Linked DNA regions of Homo sapiens: all the other regions are linked to region 5. Evidence: promoter capture Hi-C in 16 types of primary human blood cells and fetal thymus (Javierre and others, 2016). All regions are on one chromosome and are shown on one strand. Each heading gives the region's core, a stretch centred on a gene start or on the middle of the fragment in contact. The rest is flanking DNA. Distances are from core to core; before and after follow the strand shown.

Region 1 (4,713 bases), core at 1,837-4,336, 350 kb after region 5:
GTTCAGCCCAGTTGTGCCCCAACTCAGGTGGGCTTCCATGAGGGACAGCCTCTGGGAGGGTGGGGGTTTGTGGGCCAGGGCTGGAGAGCTGCCTGGCTGTGCTAAAAATACCGGGCATGCTGCAGACAGGTGCCAGTCTGGGGCACAGGCTACCCTGTCTCAGGCTGATGGCCTTGGCACTCCACCCCACTGCCCCTGTGACGCGGGGGCCGCCAAGGCTTGGTCTTGATTCCCAGAGGCCCTGCTGGTGACCTCCCCGACATCTCTGCCCTCTGCCCATCCCCCCAAGGGCAAGATTTGCCAAAGCACAGGACACATTGGCTCACACATGGGGCACCCTGCCCCTGTCTTTTTGGAAAGGTCCAATGGCATATGGCCAGCGGGTCGGGCAGGTGTGGCCGCTGGCCTGGGCTAAGCTGGCTGTGGCTGAGAGTCTGGGCGCAGAGACAGAAGGCGCCCCCTGCTGCAGAAGGATCACAGTGTGGGCTCATGGCATTGGCTTTTTTGCGGTCCCAAGTCCTTCATCTCCATTGCCGGGCCCATCTCGGGGGTCGGCAGATGCGTGTCCCCTACTAGCAAAGACCTCCAGTCGGTTCTGCGGCTGCCTGTGATGAGCCCTGCTCTGGCTAAGTGGAGGTGTTTGGCAGGGAGGAGTCCCCGGCTTAGTGTGATTCCAGCTGTGGCCGATTCTGGTGGGATCCTGGCAAGGAGGAGGTTGCGTGTGGATCTGGTGGAGGTGGACGGCCTGGCAGGGGGTGGGGTCTGCAACCCTAAGGAGCAGTGCCCCTCTCACTTGTCCCCCCGCCAGCAGACTGCTGCGTCGGCCTCCCCGGCCTGTGCCATTCTGTGGCGAAGGTCCCTGTGTAGAGGAGGCTGGAGTGGGGGAGCTCAGCCCAGGCCATGCCTCACCCTTCTTGGGTGCTCCATGGGCAAAAGCTGAGGTCAGTTTGTGGATCCTGGGAGCAGGAACCCTGCAGAGCCTGCCCCCCAGCTGGTGGCAGAGCAGGCAGTGGGGAGCTGCTGGGGCAGGAGGGAGTGACCTCCCTCCAAGACAGCCCCCAGTGGGGATGGGAGGGTCTGCAGAGATCTGGAGAGTCAAGTGTCATGACCCAGGTGGGGCCATGGAGCTGGGCTGGCCGGTGGAACTGTGTCCACCTGGACATGCTCTGGGTGAGGCGCAGTCAGCGCTGGGATGGCTAGAAGCGGCCTGTGCTGGGCGGGTCCTCGGGACACAGGGGCTGCCGCTGTCACAGAAGCCTGGCACAGATTCTCTCTGGTTCTTATGTTTCATTCATGCAGCCATTCAGTCAAAGCTGAAGCTGGTGGGGTCCTGGCCAAACAGGACGCAGCAGTGCACCACCTGGGGGCTGCCCTCAGAGGCCCCGCGAGGGGAATAGTGCCACAGGGGCCCATGGGGAGGGCCTGTGGGTCACCCTGGGTGGTGGGTGGGCTCCTGGCTCCGCGGGGCCTCCGAGGGCAAGGTGGGGTTTCTCTGGCTGCCGGCTGTGGAAGCCGCTCATGCGGAGGCCCAGCCGGGAGGCTGCAGGAGGCCGTGGGGAGGGCAGAGCCAGCTGCCTTCCCTGATGGCTGTGGAGCTGCCCACGGGACCCCTCTCCTTGTCTGGGGCTCACTGGTGCCACAGGAAAAGGAAGCCCCGGTGCTGGAGCCTGCCCTGGCCCAGGCCTTGGTGCACATCTCGGCAGCGTCACCCGACAGGTGAGGGAGGCAGCGTCACCCGACAGGTGAGGCCTCTGGACAGATGAGGCCATGTGGGGTTTCCCTGAAGAAGCAGAGCCCGGCTGCTGGGTGGGGGCTCCTCTTAGTCACTGACAGGGAGAGCTGTGCTTGTAAAACATCCACCCATTCCTGTGGAAGCTCTCGCGGTCCTGGGCAGGGTGAGGAGGGAGCATTGGAGAGGCCAAGCTGGCCAGGAAGTTTGTGCCCCTGAGAATTAGAGGGAGTCCTGTGCTCCAACTCGCAGCCGGGGCACGGATCGGGGGCACGGATCGGGAGCCCAGCCCTGCAGGCAGAGCCTCTGCACTGGACTCAGTCTCCGGAGTGGGGCTGGGCTCCTCACCGGGCCTTGCTCGGGGGACAACCTGTGGGGCTCAGGCCCCTGAGTCAGAGCAGGAGTCGGGGGCTTTGCTGTGGCCCCTCCTCACTGCTCACCTGCAGCCTCTCCCGGGCCAGGGTGTCTCCTGAACTGGCCTGAGATGCAAAGCACTGGGTTGCAGTGCTGCCCAGGTGGAGGGCTGGCCTGTGAGGCCCAGGCTGGCCTGTGTCCTGGAGTTGGCAGGGCCCCCTCCCATCCTCAGCCACATCCACCCAGTCTCAGGGGTCCCTCCAGCCTCCTGGGACTGCCGTGTCCCCCACCTCTGCTTCAGGCAGTGTTCCTGGGCTGCCTCCTTCCCTGGCCATGGGGTCCTAGTGGTTTAATGAAAATTGAGTGGTGGCCCTCCCCTCCCCGCCAGGCTGGAGTGTAGTGGTGCGATCACAGCCAGCTGTAGCCTCCACCTTCTGATTTTCCCTCTTAATGTTCACATCCATTCTTCTTGTTAACGAGACTGTGCTGAAGCCCAGCATGGTGGAGAGAGGCAGCCCACGGTGACTCACGTCTGCAGAGTGAGCTCTCGGGGGTCAGCGCCCAGACTGGGGATTAGCAGTCCTGGGCCTCGAGCCCTGTGGCTGACTCCATCCCTGCCTCCGGCAGCCTGGATTTGCACCTTTGTATAAACGGAGCCGCCTGGCATGGCGTTTGCACTTGGCTACTTCCCTCCATCTGCTGGTGAGCTCTGGCTTGTGCTCTGTGTGGCGAGTGGGTCCCTGCTTGGTTGGGACTCAGCCCCGCTTCAGGACCCCGTGGCCACTGAGGACCCAGGAACCTGCCTCTGCTCGAGTATCCGGCCTCTGTCGTGAGTGCCTTGCGTGGCCAGGGCCACTTTTCCAGAGAAGGCTCTGTGGTGCTGTGTGGCCTCGCTGCACTGTCCCTGACGTGCAGGGCCCAAAGCTGGTGTCCCCCAGGAGCAGTGTCTGGGGACAGATGCCTCCTGGTCCCGCTGGCCGATGCCTGCTGGTCTTGTACGGCGCCTGCATCGTGTTTGCCGTTTTTCTGTTGGGTTGTCTGACGTTTTCGTGTGGATCATAGGAGTTCCTCGCCCTGTGTGGACACGAGTCCTCTGAGGGACGCGTGTCACGGTGTCTGCTCACTTGCCACTGCCCGTCCAACCATGTGAGTGTCTCGGGGGACGGCAGCTCTTACTTTAGTGAAGTCCAGTGTCCAGCTCATTAATTGGCTGTGGGAAGAGATGGTGGTTTTCTTCCGAGAGCGTTATTTGTGAACCTTTCATGAAGCCCCCGGGGCCAGGCTCCCTGATCCCTGGGCCCAGACCACCCTGCAGTTCCCGCGCCAGGCTGGCACGGCGCCCGCCTTTCCCACCGGCCTCCCTGGTGCCAGACTGCGGGCCTCCTTGGGCCCTAGGGCTTGAACCAGCCTGCCTGCCCCGTTGGGCCTCTCTGCTCTCCCGCGGAGCCCACTCTGACCGGGAGTGTCCCATGGTGGCCTGAGAATACCCTCTGCCCACAGGTCCCGAGCAGCCCGGCCCACCATGGACCCCTCTGCCCACAGGTCCCGAGCAGCCCCGCCCAACATGGACCCAGACCCCCAGGCGGGCGTGCAGGTGGGCATGCGGGTGGTGCGCGGCGTGGACTGGAAGTGGGGCCAGCAGGACGGCGGCGAGGGCGGCGTGGGCACGGTGGTGGAGCTTGGCCGCCACGGCAGCCCCTCGACACCCGACCGCACAGTGGTCGTGCAGTGGGACCAGGGCACGCGCACCAACTACCGCGCCGGCTACCAGGGCGCGCACGACCTGCTGCTGTACGACAACGCCCAGATCGGTGCGCGCCAAGGGCAGGCGGGACGGGCAGGACCCGGGGGCGGGAACGCCCCTCTGACCCCACCCCACCCCCAGGCGTCCGGCACCCCAACATCATCTGTGACTGCTGCAAGAAGCACGGGCTGCGGGGGATGCGCTGGAAGTGCCGTGTGTGCCTGGACTACGACCTCTGCACGCAGTGCTACATGCACAACAAGCATGAGCTCGCCCACGCCTTCGACCGCTACGAGACCGCTCACTCGCGCCCGTGAGTCCCGGGCCGCACCGGCTCCTGTGCGGCGGGTACCCAGGCCTTGCCACTGGGGCCTTGGCCTTCGGGGAGGGTGCTGCCTCCTGACCGCTCCCAGGAAGACGGAGCAAGTCTCTCCAGAGCCGTGGCCTTAAGCAGTGGTGCCATGGGCAGGGCACAGAGGGTGGCCTCTGGGTGGCTCTACAGGCAGCAGTGGCCATCAGGCAGCCAGCATCCCCCAGGGCGGCATGAGACCTCCAGGAGGACAGCCCATACCCGGAGCCAGCACCTGGGCTGTCTTGGAGGCTGCTGCGCTCTGGTCCGAGGGCATCAGCTCGGGGAGAATCTAGCCTGCTTGGGGCAAGGACAGCCAGAGGTGCCACCCCGTCCCCTGCATTTGTCACCTTTGTCTCTGGCCCTCCCTGCACGTGGAGGGAGGTGTGGTTGTCTTGGGAGTGCTGTTGGCCAGGCCTGCTTTCCTCATTCCTCCCTTCCCACATGCTGAGCCCACCTCTGGGCCTGGCTGTGCCCCAGCTCACTGGGAGGCAGCAGGCATGAAGCGACCGCACCCAGAGGTCTTGCCGAGGGTGG
Region 2 (4,389 bases), core at 1,157-3,656, 310 kb before region 5:
TTTCTGCCTGGGCACCCAGCTGCCCGCCCCTGGCTGCTGCTCACCTTTGCTGCCTGCTTCCATCTCTCAACCATGGCGACGGTCACAGGAACAGAATTCTTCTTCCCCTTCAGCCCTCTGGGGACTCTGTCCCCATCTTCTCCTTCCTCCGCTCCATCCTCCTCCTCACTGGCTTCCTGCACAGAAAGGCTGAGCTGAAGGAGAGTGTAGAGACAAGTGCCCCCCTTCTGGTTTGGCCCACGCCCTCACCTCCAGCACATCTGGCAGGGAGTGGAACGGCCCCTCTTCCTCCTCAGAGCTGTCCGAGTCGCTGAAGTTTAGCAGGCTCTGGTCATTCTCCTGCAGGAACTTGTAGAACTCGGGGTCTCTGTCCTTCAGCCGAGAGAGCTGGTCTTTGTGCTCAGAGGCACGGCCTTTACGCCGGCTGAGGAGGCAGAAGTCAGCGACCCCAGTGGGAAGTGGAAGTAGAGGGGGCGGGGAGTGGCCTACAGGGTCAGTCTACTCCCTTCACAAGGGTTACCAACTAGCAAGACAGGATTGCCAGGAGGTACGTTTTTGGCAGACTCACGTCTCCTACCCAACAACCTCTACAACATACCCTCAAACACACTACACAGGCCCCCCAGCCGCGGTCTTCCCTGGACTTGCTGTGCCTGCGCCCTGCGCTACACAGGCCCCCAGCCGCGGTCTTCCCTGGACTTGCTGTGCCTGTGCCCTGCGCTACTTTTGCCTGATGGTGGCTTCACCCTTCCAGAGGCTCAGACTAAAGGCAAATCTCTGTCTCTAATACCCAGCACGCAACTTGTCATCAGATCTCATCAGCAACACCTTCAAAACCGTTCGTGCCTCCTCTCAAACCACCACATAGTTCAATTCTCAGTTAACCTAAAGGTCTCTCTGTTTCCACCCTTGTCACCTACAAGGCACTCCACCGCTCAAACCCAGAAGTAACTCCCTGTTTTACGAGGCAATCTTATGACGGTCTACGGCACCTGGCTCTTCATCACCCTTCTGGGCTCATCTACCCCTATTCACCCCCTCACTCCTGCCGTAGCCACGTTTACCTCTGTACTCTCCCCAAATGCTCCCACTGCAAGGCTTTTGCTGTTTTCTGCTGCCTGAAATCCTAAGACACGTTTCCCCTACTGTCTGTGTGGCCTCCTTGTTCGAGGTCTTTATTCAGACGTCATCTTCTCAAACAACCACCTCCGCTTTTTTTTTTTTTTTTTTTTCTCCTGAGGCGGAATCTCACTCTGTCGCCCAGGCTGGAGTGCAGTGGCGCAATCTCCACTCACCGCAACCTCCGCCTCCCGGGTTCAAGCGATTCTCCTGCCTCAGCCTCCCGAGTAGCTGGGACGACAGGTGTGTGTCACCACGCCAGGCTAATTTTTGTATCTTTTGATTTCTTTCTTTTTCTTTTTGAGATGGAGTCTCACTCTCTCACCCAGGCTGGAATGCAATGGTGCCATCTCGGCTCACTGCAACCTCCGCCTCCCAAGTTCAAGCGATTCTCCTGCCTCAGCCTCCCGAGTAGTTGGGATTACAGGTGCCCACCACGCCCGGCTAATTTTTATATTTTTAGTAGAGACATGATTTTTCCGTGTTGGTCAGGCTGGTCTCGAATTCCTGACCTCAGGTAATCTGCCCGCCTCGGCCTCCCAAAGTGCTGGCATTACAGGCGTGAGCCACCGAGCACAGCCTCCGCTCCTTCTAACAGAGCAACTCGGCTCCCCTGCAACTCTCTCTTCAGCCCCTCTGTCCTTCCTTTCCCTCCCCAGCACTTATCTCTCTTCTACCGAACTGCAGGCGGTGATTTCACCCAAGAACGTGAGAGTTCTCCTAGATCGGGAAGAGATTTTTGCACAACTCACCAACATACGCTCCCTGCCTAGGACAGAGTTTGGCACGGAACAGGAGCTCAGTAAACATCGGATGAAAGAGTAAGTTAAGCTGAAAGGACTGGGGGGCAGAGGTCGGCGATCCTTAGGCCTTGGCCCTGAGACCCCAGGCGAGGTCAGCAACCCAACCGGGGTGGGACAGGACGAGCAAGAGGTTCTGCTCACGCATGTCCCCACTAACCTGGCCGAGGGGCTCCCGCCCGGCTTATCCGGACTCCGGGCAGCCTCGCGTGCTTCCCGTGTCTCCGCTTGTGGAGAATTTTCGGACTCGGATTCGGACTCGGAGTCAAAGCCCGAAGCTAGGAACTCGTCCACCGTCAGCTCCGCCAGGCGCCTGCGGGTCACGCAGGAGTCACAGCTGCCCGCACGCCCAGCTCGCCCCAGCCCCGCTGAGAGGAGCAAGAAAAGCCCCCTTGGATACAGACACCCACCGGGAGGCCAAATCGGCCCTCGGACCCGCGGCTTACCTCTTGCGGCTCCCCGCAGCTGCCATGACACCAACCCGAAGCGTGCACCCCACTTCCGGCCCCAGAATGCCGCGCGGCTGCGCACTTCCGCCGCCCAGGCCCCGCCCCTTTCCCCGCCCCGCCGCGCCACGCCCAGCCGAGTGGCTCTATGGTTCTCCGACCGCAACGCCGGCGGCCTCAGGGCGGGAGGGCGCGTTCGCGTGCTCGGTGCGGGCAGCCCCGGTGGGGCCCAGATGCGCCTCCCGCTCGGCGCCCGGCTCCGTAGGACGCGGTGACGCCGGTGTCCGCCCCGGGGAAGACCGGGAGTCCCGCCGCGCCCGCAGCCCACCCGGCGCTCCGAAGGCACGCGCCTGCGAGGACGCCAGACTGCAACGGCGGGGCTCCTATGCAAAGAGCTCCCACAAATCAACAATAAAAAGCAGGGAGTCCAGTGGAAAACGCGAGGGGCAGTGGGAACCGCACTGATGTCGCCAGCTCGACAAAAGACGGGCGACCCGAGGGCCAGGCTGGCTTCGCCTCCGATCCGCGGAGACCGGGCCAGCGCCACGAACACCACGCAGGGCGCTCCCCGTCCATGGCCCTCTGGGTGCCGACCGCGGCTCTTCCCGGGGACGCCGCACGGGACGAAGACGGTGGGGAGGCCGGCGCCTTCCTTCCCGCTACCAGCCTGACACCCGGGCCCCCGGGCCTGGACAGCCAGACCCCGCGACAAGGGCGCCGCGGGGCGCAGGCACGGCTCCCCCAGCCCTGGCGCTGAGGGGGCGCGTGAGGCGAACACGGGCGGATTGGCCTCGGGGTCCCATTCGACTTCTTGGTGCCGCGGGGCCCCGGGGCTCCCCGGAGGAGAGCAAGTTAGGGGGTCGGGGGAGCGGGGATGGCTTCCGGGGGAGGAGGAGGGCGAGGCCTGGGGGGCTCCTCGGAGGAGGAAGAGGGCGAGGCTTAGGGGGGCTCCTTGGAGGAGGAGGAGGGCGAGGCTTAGGAGGGCTCTTCGGAGAAACAGGAGGGCGAGGCCTGTGGGGGGCTTCCCGGGGAAGAAGGAAGGCGAGACCTAGGGGGGCTTCCCGGAGGAGGAGGAGGAGGAGGGCTAGGCCGGGGGCTTCCCAGAGGAGGAGGATGGCGGGGCCTGGGGGGCTTCTCGGAGAAGGAAGATGGCGAGGCCTAGGGGGGCTTCTCGGAGGAGGAGGAGGGCGAGGCCTGGTGGGGGGCTTCCCGGAGGAGGAGGATGGCGGGGTCTGGGGGTGCTTCTCGGAGGAGGAGGCGGACCCGGGGCGCAGCGCTGGAAGAATCCGCGTCCAACGTCTAGTCCCCGAAGCCTCTCGGGAGGCGGGGCGGGCGGCGCCGAGAAACAGCGGCTGCGGGCGGGAGCGGCGGGAGTGAGCGACACAGAGCGGGCCGCCACCGCCGAGCAGCCCTCCGGCAGTCTCCGCGTCCGTTAAGCCCGCGGGTCCTCCGCGAATCGGCGGTGGGTCCGGCAGCCGAATGCAGCCCCGCAGCGAGCGCCCGGCCGGCAGGACGCAGAGCCCGGAGCACGGCAGCCCGGGGCCCGGGCCCGAGGCGCCGCCGCCTCCACCGCCGCAGCCGCCGGCGTGAGTGGGCGGGGGTCGGGGCGCGGGGGGCGGCCTCGGGACCTGCGCGGCCCCCGCCCTCGCGTCCGCTCGCAGAAGGGGCGGGGGCCGCTTCCGAGGGCCGGGGGAGGTCGGGACTCAGGTGCGGAGCGGGGTCGGCCCGGAGTAGGTTCCCCACCCGCGCCCCGCGCGCCCAGGACGCGACTCCCGCTGCGGTCCCGAGAGGGCGGCTAGGGACGCGGAGGAGCTGAGCTCGTGGGGGCGCCGGGAAGCGGGGCCGGACGCGGGGCTCTGTTCGCGGCTCTGACTACGCCCCAGGGGAGCAGGGGCGCAGCGGAGGCCTGGACACGGCGCGCTCCGGGGCGGGGGTCCTTGGCGGAGGTCAGGCGAGGGCTGCCGGCGCCCCCGTCGCACCAGGGGCTGGGTCCCCGCGGGCTGCCCGGGCCCCCCAGCGGCTCC
Region 3 (4,201 bases), core at 96-2,595, 440 kb after region 5:
AGTTTTCCAAGCATCAGTGCTTCTCAGATTATCCTTATCAGTTTCCTTTTTGTCAGAGACAAGGTCTCTCTACGTTGCCCAGGCTGGCGTCATGCGGTCCTCTGGCCTTAGCCTCCCACGTAGCATATGCTACCACACCCAGTTCTGGATTGGCTGATCTGAATCGGCCCTACCCAGAAGTCTGCCCCCAACAATTTTTGTTCATTCACTCTCCTGTCTTTACCTTCTGGGAAATCAATATGACAGCCCAAATTTCATCTACCAACCTCCACTTCTATCCCAAGCTCTACTCTCGTGGGACAAGACACACTCAATGTCTGGCACAGGGCGTGGCATACATGAATGTTTCACACACTAACAGGAACTAGGCCAACTGAAACCTTGCTCACCCAGCAGCGGTCTCGGACCTTGACCCCTGGGCCTCAGTGTCTCCCACACCCTTCGGCATCAACAAGAACCAGCGCCCTCTCATCATCTTTACATGCTGTGTACCCAGCCCTGGCTGCTGGCAAACATCGCTGCACACGCCCTTCCGCTTCAGACTCCTCTCTTCCTGGAGCAGCTTGCAAGCTTTCTGTGGACTCACTCTGAAGGCGGAGATGGGCCTGCTCGCACCTGGCCTACAGCCTTTTTCCTGGTTCACAGAACAGATCTGGGGCTACACCGATGTTCTTTCTTGGGAATCTGGCTCATAAAGGGGAACGAATATACAGACTAATGGCCAGGAGTCCTAGGAGTCCAGTGTCCCGATTTCCAGACTGTTTCAAGGTTTTTGGGATCTCCCTTCTCCTTTTTTTGAGACAGTCTCACTCTGTCAACCAGGCTGGAGTGCAGTAGCATGGTCATAGCTTACTGCAGCCTTGACCTCCCAGGCTCAAGGGATCCAACCACCTCAGCCTCGTAAGTGCTGGAATTCTAGCGTGAGCCACTGCGCCCGGCGGGACGTGCAGATTTCTGATCCCTTCATTGTCTTCCCTCAATCAAATCACACCCGTTCTTACTTCCAGATGCAGTGAAAACTCACTCCCTCAGGACAGTTCTCTTGGTCAGCCTCGTCCAGCGTTCACTGTGCTGTTTCCATGTCTACCACTTCTGCAACAAATGTGACTTCTATTGCCAAATTCTTCTTCATTGCTGTGACAGGACACACTACCACGGCCCTTTCATAAAGTCCTCAACTGACCCAGCCCACTCACCTTTCTCTCCTGGAATGCTCCCTTGCCATTTCCCTTCTCTTCTGTCTTTCCCATTCCCGGCGAGCTTTATCCTGTTCTTCTCGATGTCGTTTCCGACGTTCGTGCTCTCTTTCTTTCACTCTAGCATGCTTCCCTAATGAGAAATAAAGTGTCATGCAAAGAAACCTCACTTCAAAAATTTCACGAGGCCGGGCACGGTGGCTTACGCCTGTAATCCCAGCACTTTGGGAGGCCGAGGCGGGTGGATCACCTGAGGTCAGGAGTTCAAAACCAGCCTGGCCAACATGGTGAAACCCCGTCTCTACTAAAAATACAAAAATTAGCTGGGCGTGGTGGCAGGCACCTGTAATCCCAGGTACTAAGGGAGGCTGAGGCTGTAGAATCACTTGAACCTGGGAGGTGGAGGTTGCGGTGAGCCGAGATCGTGCCACTGCACTCCAGCCTGGGCGAAAAAGTGAGACTCCATCTCAAAAAAAAAAAAAAAAAAAAAAAAAAAAAAAAAAAAAATCACATGAAAATGAAATTAAATCAAGAACATTAAATATTTAAATAATGATGTTAAGTAATCCTAATCTTTTTTTTTTTTTTTTTGAAGAGACAGGGTCTCACTATATTGGCCAAGCTGGTCTTGAACTCCTGGGCTCAAGTGATCCTCCATCCTTGTCCTCCCAAAGTGCTGGGATTACAGGCCTGGGCCACTGCACCCAGTCGAATAATCATGATTTTATGTTAAATAAAAAACTTTGAAAATAGAAAACTATCTGCAGTAAGCGTCTAATTATGAAGAAAGAAGAAAAAAGAAAAACAATTCTGCTATCACAGAAGAGAATTGTAATATTCATCTTTTAAAAATTTTCTATACTGAATAAACTATAATTATCAGTTTTATAATACAAAAACCACTCTTCACAAAGACTACAGAACAAAGCTTTGCTATCAGTGGGCTTCTCCACTGTGCAATGAAGCCACATTAATTAATCAAGCGTATTTATAATAATGAGATTTCAATCGGGCTCCAGGTCCAATTTTCCTAACACCCGTAAGAATCTCCTGATGTTGGTACGAGATCAAACTGCTCAAGCCTAACCCATTCTTTGGACTTGAGCAAATACCCATTTTGGGGTGTGTTTTTCTCCTATACTTGTTGAATTCAGGTCATTTTAAATGTAAACAAACTGCTCCCAAACAATATAATGGGGGAGAGAAAACCCCAGAGGAAAAATGGACTAGCCATTCTGAATGGTCTGTGACACACGCACGCTTTCAGCTAGAGTTTGCTCTCTCTGGTTTTCGGTCTGTGACACACGCATGCTTTCAGCTAGAGTTTGCTCTCTCTGGTTTTCGGTCTGTGACACACGCACACTTTCAGCTGGAGTATCCTCTCTATAGCCCCTCTGAACGGTCTGTGACACACGCATGCTTTCAGCTAGAGTTTGCTCTCTCTGGTTTTCGGTCTGTGACACACGCACGCTTTCAGCTAGAGTATCCTCTCTATAGCCCCTCTGAACGGTCTGTGACACACGCATGCTTTCAGCTAGAGTTTGCTCTCTCTGGTTTTCAGTCTGTGACACATGCATGCTTTCAGCTAGAGTATTCTCTCTATAGCCCTTCTGAATGGTCTGTGACACACGCATGCTTTCAGCTGGAGTTTGCTCTGTCTGGTTTTCGGTCTGTGACACACGCATGCTTTTAGCTAGTTTGCTCTCTATAGCCCTTCTGAATGGTCTGTGACACACGCACGCTTTCAGCTAGAGTTTGCTCTTTCTGGTTTTCGGTCTGTGACACACGCATGCTTTCAGCTAGAGTTTGCTCTCTCTGGTTTTCGGTCTGTGACACACGCATGCTTTCAGCTAGGGTATTCTCTCTATAGCCCTTCTGAATGGTCTGTGACACACGCATGCTTTCAGGTGGAGTTTGCTCTCTCTGGTTTTCGGTCTGTGACACACGCATGCTTTCAGCTAGAGTATTCTCTCTATAGCCCCTCTGAACGGTCTGTGACACACGCATGCTTTCAGCTGGAGTTTGCTCTCTCTGGTTTTCGGTCTGTGACACACGCAGGCTTTTAGCTAGAGTTTGCTCTCCATAGCCCTTCTGAATGGTCTGTGACACACGCACGCTTTCAGCTAGAGTTTGCTCTCTCTGGTTTTCGGTCTGTGATACACGCACGCTTTCAGCTAGAGTTTGCTCTCTCTGGTTTTCGGTCTGTGACACACGCACGCTTTCAGCTAGAGTATTCTCTCTATAGCCATTCTGAACGGTCTGTGACGCACGTATGCTTTCAGCTAGAGTATTCTTTTTTTTTTTTTTGAGACGGAGTCTTGCTCTGTCGCCCAGGCTAGAGTGTGCAGTGGTGCGATAGCGGCTCACTGCAAGCTCCGCCTCCCAGGTTCATGCCATTCTCCTGCCTCAGCCTCCAGAGCAGCTGGGACTACAGGTGCCCGCCACCACGCCCGGCTAATTTTTTGTATTTTTAGTAGAGACTGGGTTTCACCGTGTTAGCCAGGATGGTCTTGATCTCCTGACCTTGTGATCCACCCGCCTCAGCCTCCCAAAGTGCTGGGATTACAGGCTTGAGCCACCACGCCCGGCCTTCAGCTAGAGTATTCTCTCTATAGCCCTTCTGAATGGTCTGTGACACACGCATGCTTTCAGCTAGAGTTTGCTCTCTCTATAGCCCTTCTGAATGGCCTGTGACACACGCATGCTTTCAGCTAGTTTGCTCTCTCTGGTTTTCGGTCTGTGACGCACACATGCTTTCAGCTAGAGTTTGCTCTCTATAGCCCCTCTGAATGGTCTGTGACACATGCATGCTTTCAGCTATTCTCTCTATAGCCCTTCTGAACGGTCTGTGACACCATTATGCTTTCAGCTACAGTTTGCTTTCTCTGGTTTTTCAGTGGTGCTCTGGGGAAGGCAGAAGAGTAGGAACAGGAAAGAAACCACACTTGAACATGATGTCAAAGAAAGTAAATGCTTCTGTACCCCCTTCTGCTGAATGGCTATGA
Region 4 (4,573 bases), core at 1,861-4,360, 300 kb after region 5:
GTAGCCGCTAAACCTGATTTTATTAACAAGATAGCTAAATAATTTTTTTTTTTGAGACAGAGTCTCGCTCTGTCACCCAGGCTGGAGTGCAGTGGCCGGATCTCAGCTCACTGCAAGCTCTGCTTCCTGCTTCCCGGGTTCACGCCATTCTCCTGCCTCAGCCTCCTGAGCAGCTGGGACTACAGGCGCCCGTCACTATGCCGGGGTCATTTTTTTGTATTTTTTGTAGAGACGGGGTTTCACCATGTTAGCCAAGATGGTCTCGATCTCCTGACCTCGTGATCCACCTGCCTCGGCCTCCCAAAGTGCTGGGATTACAGGCGTGAGCCACCGCGCCCAGCCCTAAATAGAATTTTTAAAACATTTCCTTTTGTTAAGATTTCTACTCCATCTTGCCAGGCGCAGTAGCTCACGCCTATAATCCCAGCACTTTGGGAGGCCCACGCAGGCGGATCACGAGGTCAGGAGATCGAGACCATCCTGGCTAACATGGTGAAACCCCGTCTCTACTAAAAATACAAAAAAATTAGCCGGGCGTGGTGGCGGGCGCCTGTAGTCCCAGCTACTCAGGAGGCTGAGGCAGGAGAATAGTGTGAACCCAGGAGGCGGAGCTTGCAGTGAGCTGAGATAGCACCACTGCACTCCAGCCTGGGCTACAGACTCCCCCTCAAGAAAAAAAATATATATTCTACTCCAACTTTATTTTATTTATGTATTTATTTGAGATGGAGTCTTGCTCTGTCGCCCAGGCTGGAGTGCAGTGGCATGATCTCGGCTCAATGCAAGCTCCGCCTCCTGGGTTCATGCCATTCTCCTGCCTCAGCCTCCCGAGTAACTGGGACTGCAGGCGCCCGCCACCACGCCCGGCTAATTTTTTTGTATTTTCAGTAGAGACGGGGTTTCATCGTGTTAGCCAGGATAGTCTCAATCTCCTGACTTTGTGATCCGCCCATCTCGGCCTCCCAAGGTGCTAGGATTACAGGTGTGAGCCACTGCGCCCGGCCTACTCCATCTTTGTTATGCAGGTACAGCAGAAAATCTTGAACAAAGGATCACCAAGGAGAACCAGCAGAACCAGAAGGTCTCCAGCCCATTTGTTATTCCAATTAACAATAATTTTGTCTTGGGGGGGGGGGGGTGAGCCTTGCATTGTTTTGCTTAAATGTATCAAATTTTTACAGGTAACTGCAGTTTATAAATGAAGATCCAGCACAATGTAATTCTAGCACATTTCTAGTTTTAAAAACAACCTTTGGCCGGATGCGGTGGCTGACGCCTGTAATCCCAGCACTTTGGGAGGCCGAGGCGGGCAGATCACCTGAGGTCAGGAGTTTGAGATTAGCCTGGCCAGCATGGTGAAGCTCCGTCTCTACTAAAAATACAAAAAAAGCCGGGCGCAGTGGCTCACGCCTGTAATCCCAGCACTTTGGGAGGCCGAGCGGGCAGATCACGAGGTCATAAGATCAAGACCATCCTGGCTAAGATGATGAAACTCCGTCTCTACTAAAAATACAAAAAAAAAAAAAAATTAGCCGTGCCTGGTGGCCGGTGCCTGTAGTCCCAGCTACTCGGGAGGCTGAGGCAGGAGAATAGCTCGATCTCGGGAGGCACAAGTTGCAGTGAGCCGAGATCGCGCTACTGCACTCCAGTTTGGGCGACAGAGCAAGACTCTGTCTCAAAAAAAAAAAAAAAAAAAAAAAAAAAGAAAGAAAAGAATAAAGAGAAAGAATCAGCAGATCATGAACACTTGACACTGATTTTTGGGGGGTGTTTTTTGGTCTCCAACTCCTGACTTCAGGTGATCCGCGTGCGTCGGCCTCCCAAAGTGCGGGGACTACACGCGTGAGCCACCGTGCCTGGCCCACGTGACACTGTTAAAAACGGAAAAAAAAGGGGGACTGTTAATTTTCCCAAGTTGCTCAGGAAAGTTATAGCTGGACTGCGAGAAGAGAAGCGAAACACTGTTTTCATTTAAAGTTCACGTAGGTAACTTTGGAGGTAAAAAAGCCATTTCAACTTTCTTACTATCAAAGTTGACACATACCAAATTTTAACTGTAAGTCAAGTGGTCAGTTTCTCAGTTTGCTATGTGACTGAACAAAAAACTTGTTATCAAGCAGGAATAAACTTTCATTAGACATACGCTACGCAAGAGTCACAGGCGGCCAGTTAGCAGGGAATATAAACTAGCAGAGCCAAACCAAGTCCACGTTGTATTCCAGAAACTACCGGTTGGAGGCGTTCCAGGGAGGAAGAGAGGATCTTTCGCAAAAAAAAAAAAAGAAGAAGAAGTAGCAAACACACAAATCCATGGCATTAAAAAAAGAGACCGCTTTGTTATTTACAACATCGTGGTATGCCGTGATTGTGTTGCGCGCCGTTTCCAGGGAAGGTGGCCAACGACGCACACGAAATACCATGATCGGCCGCCGCCGCGCAGCCCCTCGCCGCGGACGCTACCCTCGCCCCCCGGGCCCGGCCTCGGAGAGCTCGAAGGACCACCGGACAGCGGGCGCCTCGTCCCGGAACCTGCCTTCCCTGTGATGCCCACCCGCGTGTGGACTACGCGCGCTGCCGTCCAGCTGCCATCCCAACCAGCCGACCCACGAGCGCGGCCCGGCCCGGCTTCCTCTCAGGGGTCCTGGCGCGGGCCAGGGGGAACCGGGGAGGAGGGAGGGCCGGTCGCCGGAGCAGAGCGCGCGGGGACAGGGTGGAGCCCAACTACCTGAGGATGTTGTGCGCCTCCATGCTCCGGTTCTGGTTGCTCGAGCACACCACCGCCACCCGCAGCGGGGACGACGGCATGGCGGCGGCCGCAAATCCCGCGGCTCTCCCGCTTGGGTTCCCACCCTACCGCGGCGCTTCCGCGCGAACAAAATGGCGGCCGCGGTGGCCGGAAGCGGGCGACGCGAAACGACGGCGCCGGCGGTGTAGCGTGCGGCGACTGCGCGGCGGCCTCCCCGCCCACCCTGGGCGCCGGGCCGCGGACGGAGCGCAGGCACTGGCCTTCGGGCGCGCTGCACTCGGCGAGGCCGGGGGCGGCCAACGCCGCGCCGGCCCCCGGCGTCCGCAGCAGAGACCCGCACTCCACAAGGCCCGGCTGAGCGTCACGGCGCCAAGCGGCGGCGTCCTGACATCAGCACCCCGCGCCGGCGCCTAGTGTGACGCGACGACGTGCGGAACAACAGGACGTCATAAGGTGTCGCCGCCGCCTTTGGGAGCGATGCGAAACGCCGCGCTTGCCGGAGATAGCATTGAGGGCCCTTCCGCGGCCCGGCGTTTCGTCTCTTGGGACGATTTTGTGCGTTCCCTCGGTCCCCGTGGGGCCCATAGTCCTCACTTCTGCCACCCCAGAGTCGTCGCGCTTCACTAGACCCGCTCCCTCCACTGTCCCGGAGGCCCACAGACATTCCCGCATTCTGAGGCTCGCTCCCGTCCCGTGCCGCTGTTACCGGCCTCCGGCCCCGGCTCATACAAGCAGGAGCACATCGCTCTTTTATGAAAGCCCTTCAACATTTAACGTTTAAATGCGAGGGCCGACCTGTGACAGACCTGGTTGGGAGTGCACGTCGACTAGGATCTTCCTCGCCTCGGGCTTCCTTGGAGAGGCCGCCGGCTGGTCTGAGATTTGGGTCCAGTTACAGTAAATCCAGTCAACGCGAGTGTGTCATTCCCCAGCTATGCCTGTCTGCCTGGATGCAGCCTCGCGGTGGACAGTGGGCTGATGTTTTGCCGTGGGAGCGCCACGGACGGGAGAGGGAGTGATAATGATTGTCAACCTAATAACAGGCTAACTGAAAATGATATTTATTTGGGAATAGGGCGTTGGCGAATATGCGTGCCATAGTAAACGATTTGCGCATTCAGGAAAGTAATGGTTTTTAAAGAAAAAATGAAGAGGAAGATAATGGTTTGGAAATAATTAACCTTGGCTACAAAGAACAGTAACAAGTGTACTCCCGGCCGGGCGCGGTGGCTCACGCCTGTAATCCCAGCACTTTGGGAGGCCGAGGCGGGCGGATCACGAGGTCGGGAGATCCAGACCGTCCTGCCTAACCCGGTGAAACCCCGTCTCTACTAAAAATACAAAAAATTAGCCGGGCGTGGTGGCGGGCGCCTGTAGTCCCAGCTACTCGGGAGGCTGAGGCAGGAGAATGGCGTGAACCCGGGAGGCGGAGCTTGTAGTGAGCCGAGATCGCGCCACTGCCCTCCAGCCTGGGCGACAGAGCCAGACTCCGTCTAAAAAAAAAAAAAAACAAGTGTACTCCCGTTCCAGGGTTGGACAGGCAGTTGCTGGGCAGCTGTCCTTGCTGAAGTATTTTTTGTGTAAGATTGCCTTAGTGCAAGGTTGTGGTTTTTGCAGAATCTTGTGATAGTTTTTCTTATTATTGATTCATGAGAATTCTCCATGGCCTTTCCCAGCTGTCTTTGTCAAGGTATTTTTTAAACATAAGTGAGTCCACTTTTATTTGACAACTTGGGTATTTTCCCCTTTTGATTGAGATCTTTCTCCAAATGCATCACTAATGAGTCATCCTGTAATTAGGTTTTGATAGTCCCCGTGCTGGGATGA
Region 5 (4,270 bases), core at 101-2,600:
CAGGACTGCCAGGGAAGTCTCTGCCTTCTCCACCAGACTGCTCCGGAGGCTGGACGGAAGCCCGGGCCGATGGAAATGGGACACTCACCTGCGACTCACACATGCACCTGCCTGGGTCACCTGCCTGTCACTCATCCACGCACCTACCTGCCTGGCTCACCTGCCTGTCACTCAAGCACTCACCTACCTGCCTGGCTCACCTGCCTGTCACTCACGCACATCCCTGCCGAGAGTGGAACTGCTAAGGAGGTCAGCGGTGCCAGGCCGTGCAGATGACGGACTGCAAGTTCCGGGCACCCAGACCCAACCACGCCCTAGGCTCAGGTGCTAGACTAAGCGAGATACTCACGATCCTTTCTTCGGAAGCCAGATTACACAGTCTGGTTCCCCTGGAGCAGGGCGCGGGGCCACCGACCTGCCCCAGCCAAGCCCGCTGTACACTCTTCGCTGCCCACCTCCCACCGGGCTGAGGCCCGACCTTTCAGCCGCTTCCTATCTGGGTCTGGCAAGAGGATGGCAACCGGACTAGAGTTAAATACACACGCACTAAGTGGCAGGCACTGAAAAGGACGCCAGGAGGTGACACCTGGCCAGGGGCTGAAAGGATGCAGGGAACTGGCAGGTGTGGATGGCGAGGCCCGGCGCCGCTTAGAGACTTGTTCCGGGCTCGTGTCTCACTCGCCGGCCGGCGGTGGTCTCCCACTGTCACCGCCCGGGTTTCCCAGAAACGCTGGCCCTAAGCACAGTCCCGGGCACGCTCGTTTCTCTCGGGGTTTACGGGGCAGTCTGGAGTCTAACAGTTCAGGGGCGAGGCGACGGCGGGCTCGACGGCAGCCCTCCCCCGACACAGACTCCCGTGATCCACTGACGAACCAGGATCGAGGCTGCCCGTCCTGGGGCAGCTGCAAGTGTCCCAGCTGACGGGAAACCCGGCCGAGTGGTCAAGTCCCCGACATGACCCTGACCCGGAGCTCCGGGAGCCCGCCGTAACCGACCTCGGGTTCCGCGCAGGCAGGCTCGGGCCGGGGCCCCGCGGGCGGCGGGCGCGAACGGAGAAGCGTCGCGCAGGGTCCCCAGCAGCCCCGGGCCGCCGCTGTGGCCGGCTCCGGCAGGGGGGACGAGCGGGCCCGAGGACCCGGCGCAGGCCTGCGAGCGCGCTCACCTCTCCCTGTCGCTGCGCGTGGGCCGCCGCCGCGCTCAGGCTCGCCGTAGTCGAGGCCGGAGCAGGGTGCGGAAAAGCGGGGCCCGCGCCCGAAACAGCCGCACCGCCCCGGGATTGGGCCCACCGAACCCGCCGCAGCGCCGCCGCCGCCGCCTCAGCCTCCAAGATGGCCGCTCGCGGGGCGGAACCAGCCTAGCTTCTGCTTCCGGTGCGCGGTCCGGGGCGGTGAGGAGGGAGGGGGAGGGCTGGCCGCTCTAGGCAGACTGGCGGACCGCGCCCACGACTCTCTGTCGCCGTCGACCCCGGGGTGGGGGATGGGGCGGGGGGCGGGGCGGCGCTTGCGCACTGGCGGGCGGCTCCGGGCACCGTTAGTGGGCGCGAGAGCCCCAGACCCCGAAGCCGCGCGCTTCCCTCCCCATGTGCCACGGCCCAGGGCGGCAGGCCCGGCTGAGGGCGACCCCGGTGGAGAAAGAACCCCGACCCTCCCGCCTCCCGGCTCCCGCCTTGTCCTCCGCTCCCACGCCCCACCCGGCCCTTAGGGGAGGCGCGGCGCGGCCCGGGCATGGAGCGTCCCGGGCCCCTGGAGGCTCAGTGGAGGGTTGGGCTCCAGGGAGCTCAGAGCTCTCTCGTTCAGGGACCCGAGAGTGACACGCGTGGCATCTCTTTGCAACCCACGTCCGCGCCGCAGCACCCTCCCCTGCAGGTGCCTGCCCAGCCCCGGGATGCCCCTGACCTCCCCTTGGACAGACTGCAGAAAGCGCGGGGCGCTGCGTCCTCTCCACCTCTCTCTGACCCCAGACACATTGGGAGAGAGCGGTAGGTGGCGGGGCGCTGGGGTGGGACGCTGGGGGCAGGCGCGCAGCCCACCGCCTCCCTGAGAGGCCGCTGAGGACAGCGGGGAGCTGAGGGTGGTCCCCTGGTGGGGGATCAGGAGGTGGACCTCGCCACCTGGCTGCCTGTGGCCCTCTCCTTTGCCCCAACCCTGACTGCCTCTCAGGAACAACCACAGGTCAGCAAGGTGGCTGAATATTGAGGGTCAGTCCCGCTGTGGCTACGGGCAGAGGGCAGGCTGTGTCCATGCTCAGCCCTGACTCTGGCCCTCTGGGACACCTTGGTGGGTCTGAGACGTTGCTGCAGGCCGTGGGGCAGAAGCCAGGAGGAGTGTCCACGCAGCCTCAGCCCGTGGGAATCCAGCCTGCCTCCATTACTGCCGTCACCGGCTCCACCTTCGGAGAACATCTCAGCATCCAGCCTCCTTCCTCTGCCTCCTCTCAGGCCTCTGCCGTTCCCATGCAGGGCAGGCCAAACTGTTTTCACAGCATGGAAAGTTATGTGAGGGAAGCCACACCGGCCGCAGATACAGGCACCAGCACATCCACTCGCATGCACACTCACGGCTGTGGCCCGCGGCAGATGGAGGCCCGCTCTGCCTTGTCTGTCCCTCAGTAGTGTGCGATGACAGCACACCTGTGGGGGCCCTGCAGCTGGGAAGACTGCAGCGAGGCTCAACTCAGAGGCCCCTGCTCAGGAGCATGGCTGAGTCACACCCCAGGGAGAAGGTGCCCCGGACAGGTGTGGCCAGCACGTCTTGCCAAGACCCCACCACCCCACCCACCCGCATCTGTGGCCTTCTGGTAAGCAGGACACAGGCTGCCCAGGCCTCTAGCCATAGAGCCGATGGCCTTGGCCAGTGGGATCGGCACAAGCAGCTAGGTTGGTGGCAGATGGTGGCTGTAACCTTCTCAACCCTGAGATTGCCCTCTGAGGGCAGGAGCAGCCCTTCTGCTGTGGGCCAGCCCTCCGGAGGGACTTCCTCTGGCAGCTTCAGGAATAGGACAACAGGGACCACCCTCAGCATCTTGAGCAGCGGGGGGCACCCTCTGCTTTGGCAACCAAGAAAACATCCCCCAACCCAGTTACCACCTCCTGCCCCCACCTCCTCCAGCCCCCAGGGTTGGACCAGAAAGCCTTGGCTGCCTCTGAACAGCAGGGATTGTCTGGCCAGGGGATGCTTGAGGGACAGAGAACCCAGCCTGGAGGGTGCAAACTGAGGAAGGTCTCAGTCCCTTTAGAAAGTTTGTTTTGCCAAGGTTAAGGACACACCCATGACATCTCGGGAGGTGCCCAAGGTGCATGTGGCACAGCTCGCTTTTATACATTTTAGGGAGACATGATTTATTTACACGGGTTCAATCTGAAAGAGCAGGATAAATTGGGGTGGTGTGGGGAGACCTCTATGTTATAGGCAGATTCAAAATGATCCTGACCGACAGTGGTTGAAAGAGTTATTATCAATAGAAAGGAATGTCTGGGTTGCAGTAAGGGGTTGTGGTTTTCCACGCAGCTGAAGCCTCGGGTTGCCGGCTTCAGAGAGAATAGATTGTTAATGTTTCCTATCAGACTTAAGGCCTGTGTTGATGTTAATGCTAGTCAGCTTTTCCTGAATTTCAAAAGGGAGGAGGCATGACCCACGACCCCTTCCCGCCATGGCCTGAACAAGTTCCCAGGTTAACACTGGAACGCCCTTGGCTGAGAGGAAGGGTCCATTTGGACGGCTGGGGGGGCCTTAGAATTTAATTTTTGGTTTACATTCACCCCCTTCTGGCCAAGATTTGCCAGAGGCAACATCCATGTCCACCAAATCTTTATTGTGTCTCAGCGTTGCTGGGCGAGTGTGGCTGCCCACCCTCAGTCAATCCTGTCCCTCAGTTTGACTCCCTATGACCCAGGGACTTACAGTTAAAAGATTTACAGCCCATTAAATTTTGTAGGCCAGATAGGAATGGACATGGACCAGCATTCATTACCTCTTAAAACAATTTTTTTTTTTAAAGTTGGAGTCTCACTCTGTCGCCCAGGCTGGAGTACAGTGGCATGATCTCGGCTCACTGCAACCTCCGCCTCCCAGGTTCCATTGAGTCTCCTGCCCCAGCCTCCTGAGCAGCTGGAACTACAGGCATGCACCACCATGCCTGGCTAATTTTTATATTTTTGTAGAGACAGGGTTTCACCATGTTGGCCAGGCTGGTCTTGAACTCCTGACCTCAAGTGATCCGCCCTCCTTGGCCTCCCAAAGTGTTGGGATTGCAGGCATGAGCCACCACACCC

Evidence for each region. Contacts are between HindIII fragments. The CHiCAGO score rates a contact against its expected background, and 5 or more counts as called.
Region 1: a fragment that was not itself captured here is called in contact with the fragment with the promoter of UBE2J2 in region 5 in 1 of 17 cell types (fetal thymus); the score reaches 5.1 in fetal thymus.
Region 2: the fragment with the promoter of NOC2L here is called in contact with the fragment with the promoter of UBE2J2 in region 5 in 6 of 17 cell types (naive CD4 T cells, M1 macrophages, endothelial precursors and 3 more); the score reaches 7.8 in naive CD4 T cells.
Region 3: a fragment that was not itself captured here is called in contact with the fragment with the promoter of UBE2J2 in region 5 in 1 of 17 cell types (naive CD8 T cells); the score reaches 6.7 in naive CD8 T cells.
Region 4: a contact is called between the fragment with the promoter of SSU72 here and the fragment with the promoter of UBE2J2 in region 5, in 4 of 17 cell types (fetal thymus, total B cells, total CD8 T cells and 1 more). The highest score is 6.8, in fetal thymus.

What each region holds. Positions count from the first base shown.
Region 1 is chr1:1,619,806-1,624,518 of GRCh38, forward strand. It overlaps MIB2 (MIB E3 ubiquitin protein ligase 2), which reads left to right. Exons shown (of 20, transcript NM_001170687.4): 3 at 3,626-3,894; 4 at 3,969-4,140. The coding sequence starts at 3,648. Among named protein-coding and RNA genes, the nearest start is that of MIB2, 6.7 kb to the left of the region's middle. The HindIII fragment of the contact is 8,411 bases long and covers 1-4,713 here.
Region 2 is chr1:956,850-961,238 of GRCh38, forward strand. It overlaps NOC2L (NOC2 like nucleolar associated transcriptional repressor), which reads right to left and starts at 2,407. Exons shown (of 19, transcript NM_015658.4): 1 at 2,366-2,407; 2 at 2,080-2,232; 3 at 250-424; 4 at 45-176. The coding sequence starts at 2,391. It overlaps KLHL17 (kelch like family member 17), which reads left to right and starts at 3,735. Exons shown (of 12, transcript NM_198317.3): 1 at 3,735-3,951. The coding sequence starts at 3,845. RefSeq lists enhancers at 1,675-2,532, 2,191-2,300 and silencers at 2,411-2,670, 3,629-3,938, 3,959-4,288. The HindIII fragment of the contact is 14,217 bases long and covers 1-4,389 here.
Region 3 is chr1:1,715,150-1,719,350 of GRCh38, forward strand. CDK11A (cyclin dependent kinase 11A) reads right to left here. Exons shown (of 20, transcript NM_024011.4): 4 at 4,179-4,201; 5 at 1,197-1,329. Among named protein-coding and RNA genes, the nearest start is that of CDK11A, 7.1 kb to the right of the region's middle. The HindIII fragment of the contact is 1,554 bases long and covers 569-2,122 here.
Region 4 is chr1:1,571,753-1,576,325 of GRCh38, forward strand. It overlaps SSU72 (SSU72 homolog, RNA polymerase II CTD phosphatase), which reads right to left and starts at 3,111. Exons shown (of 5, transcript NM_014188.3): 1 at 2,726-3,111. The coding sequence starts at 2,805. SSU72-AS1 (SSU72 antisense RNA 1) reads left to right here and starts at 3,195. Exons shown (of 1, transcript NR_197593.1): 1 at 3,195-4,573. RefSeq lists silencers at 2,595-2,674, 2,915-3,074 and enhancers at 3,195-3,304, 3,315-3,384. The HindIII fragment of the contact is 11,232 bases long and covers 1-4,573 here.
Region 5 is chr1:1,272,504-1,276,773 of GRCh38, forward strand. UBE2J2 (ubiquitin conjugating enzyme E2 J2) reads right to left here and starts at 1,351. Exons shown (of 7, transcript NM_058167.3): 1 at 1,163-1,351. LINC01786 (long intergenic non-protein coding RNA 1786) reads left to right here and starts at 1,499. Exons shown (of 3, transcript NR_185846.1): 1 at 1,499-1,978; 2 at 2,300-2,796. RefSeq lists enhancers at 1-498, 499-1,006, 2,197-2,835 and silencers at 1,196-1,775, 1,936-1,985. The HindIII fragment of the contact is 5,565 bases long and covers 1-4,270 here.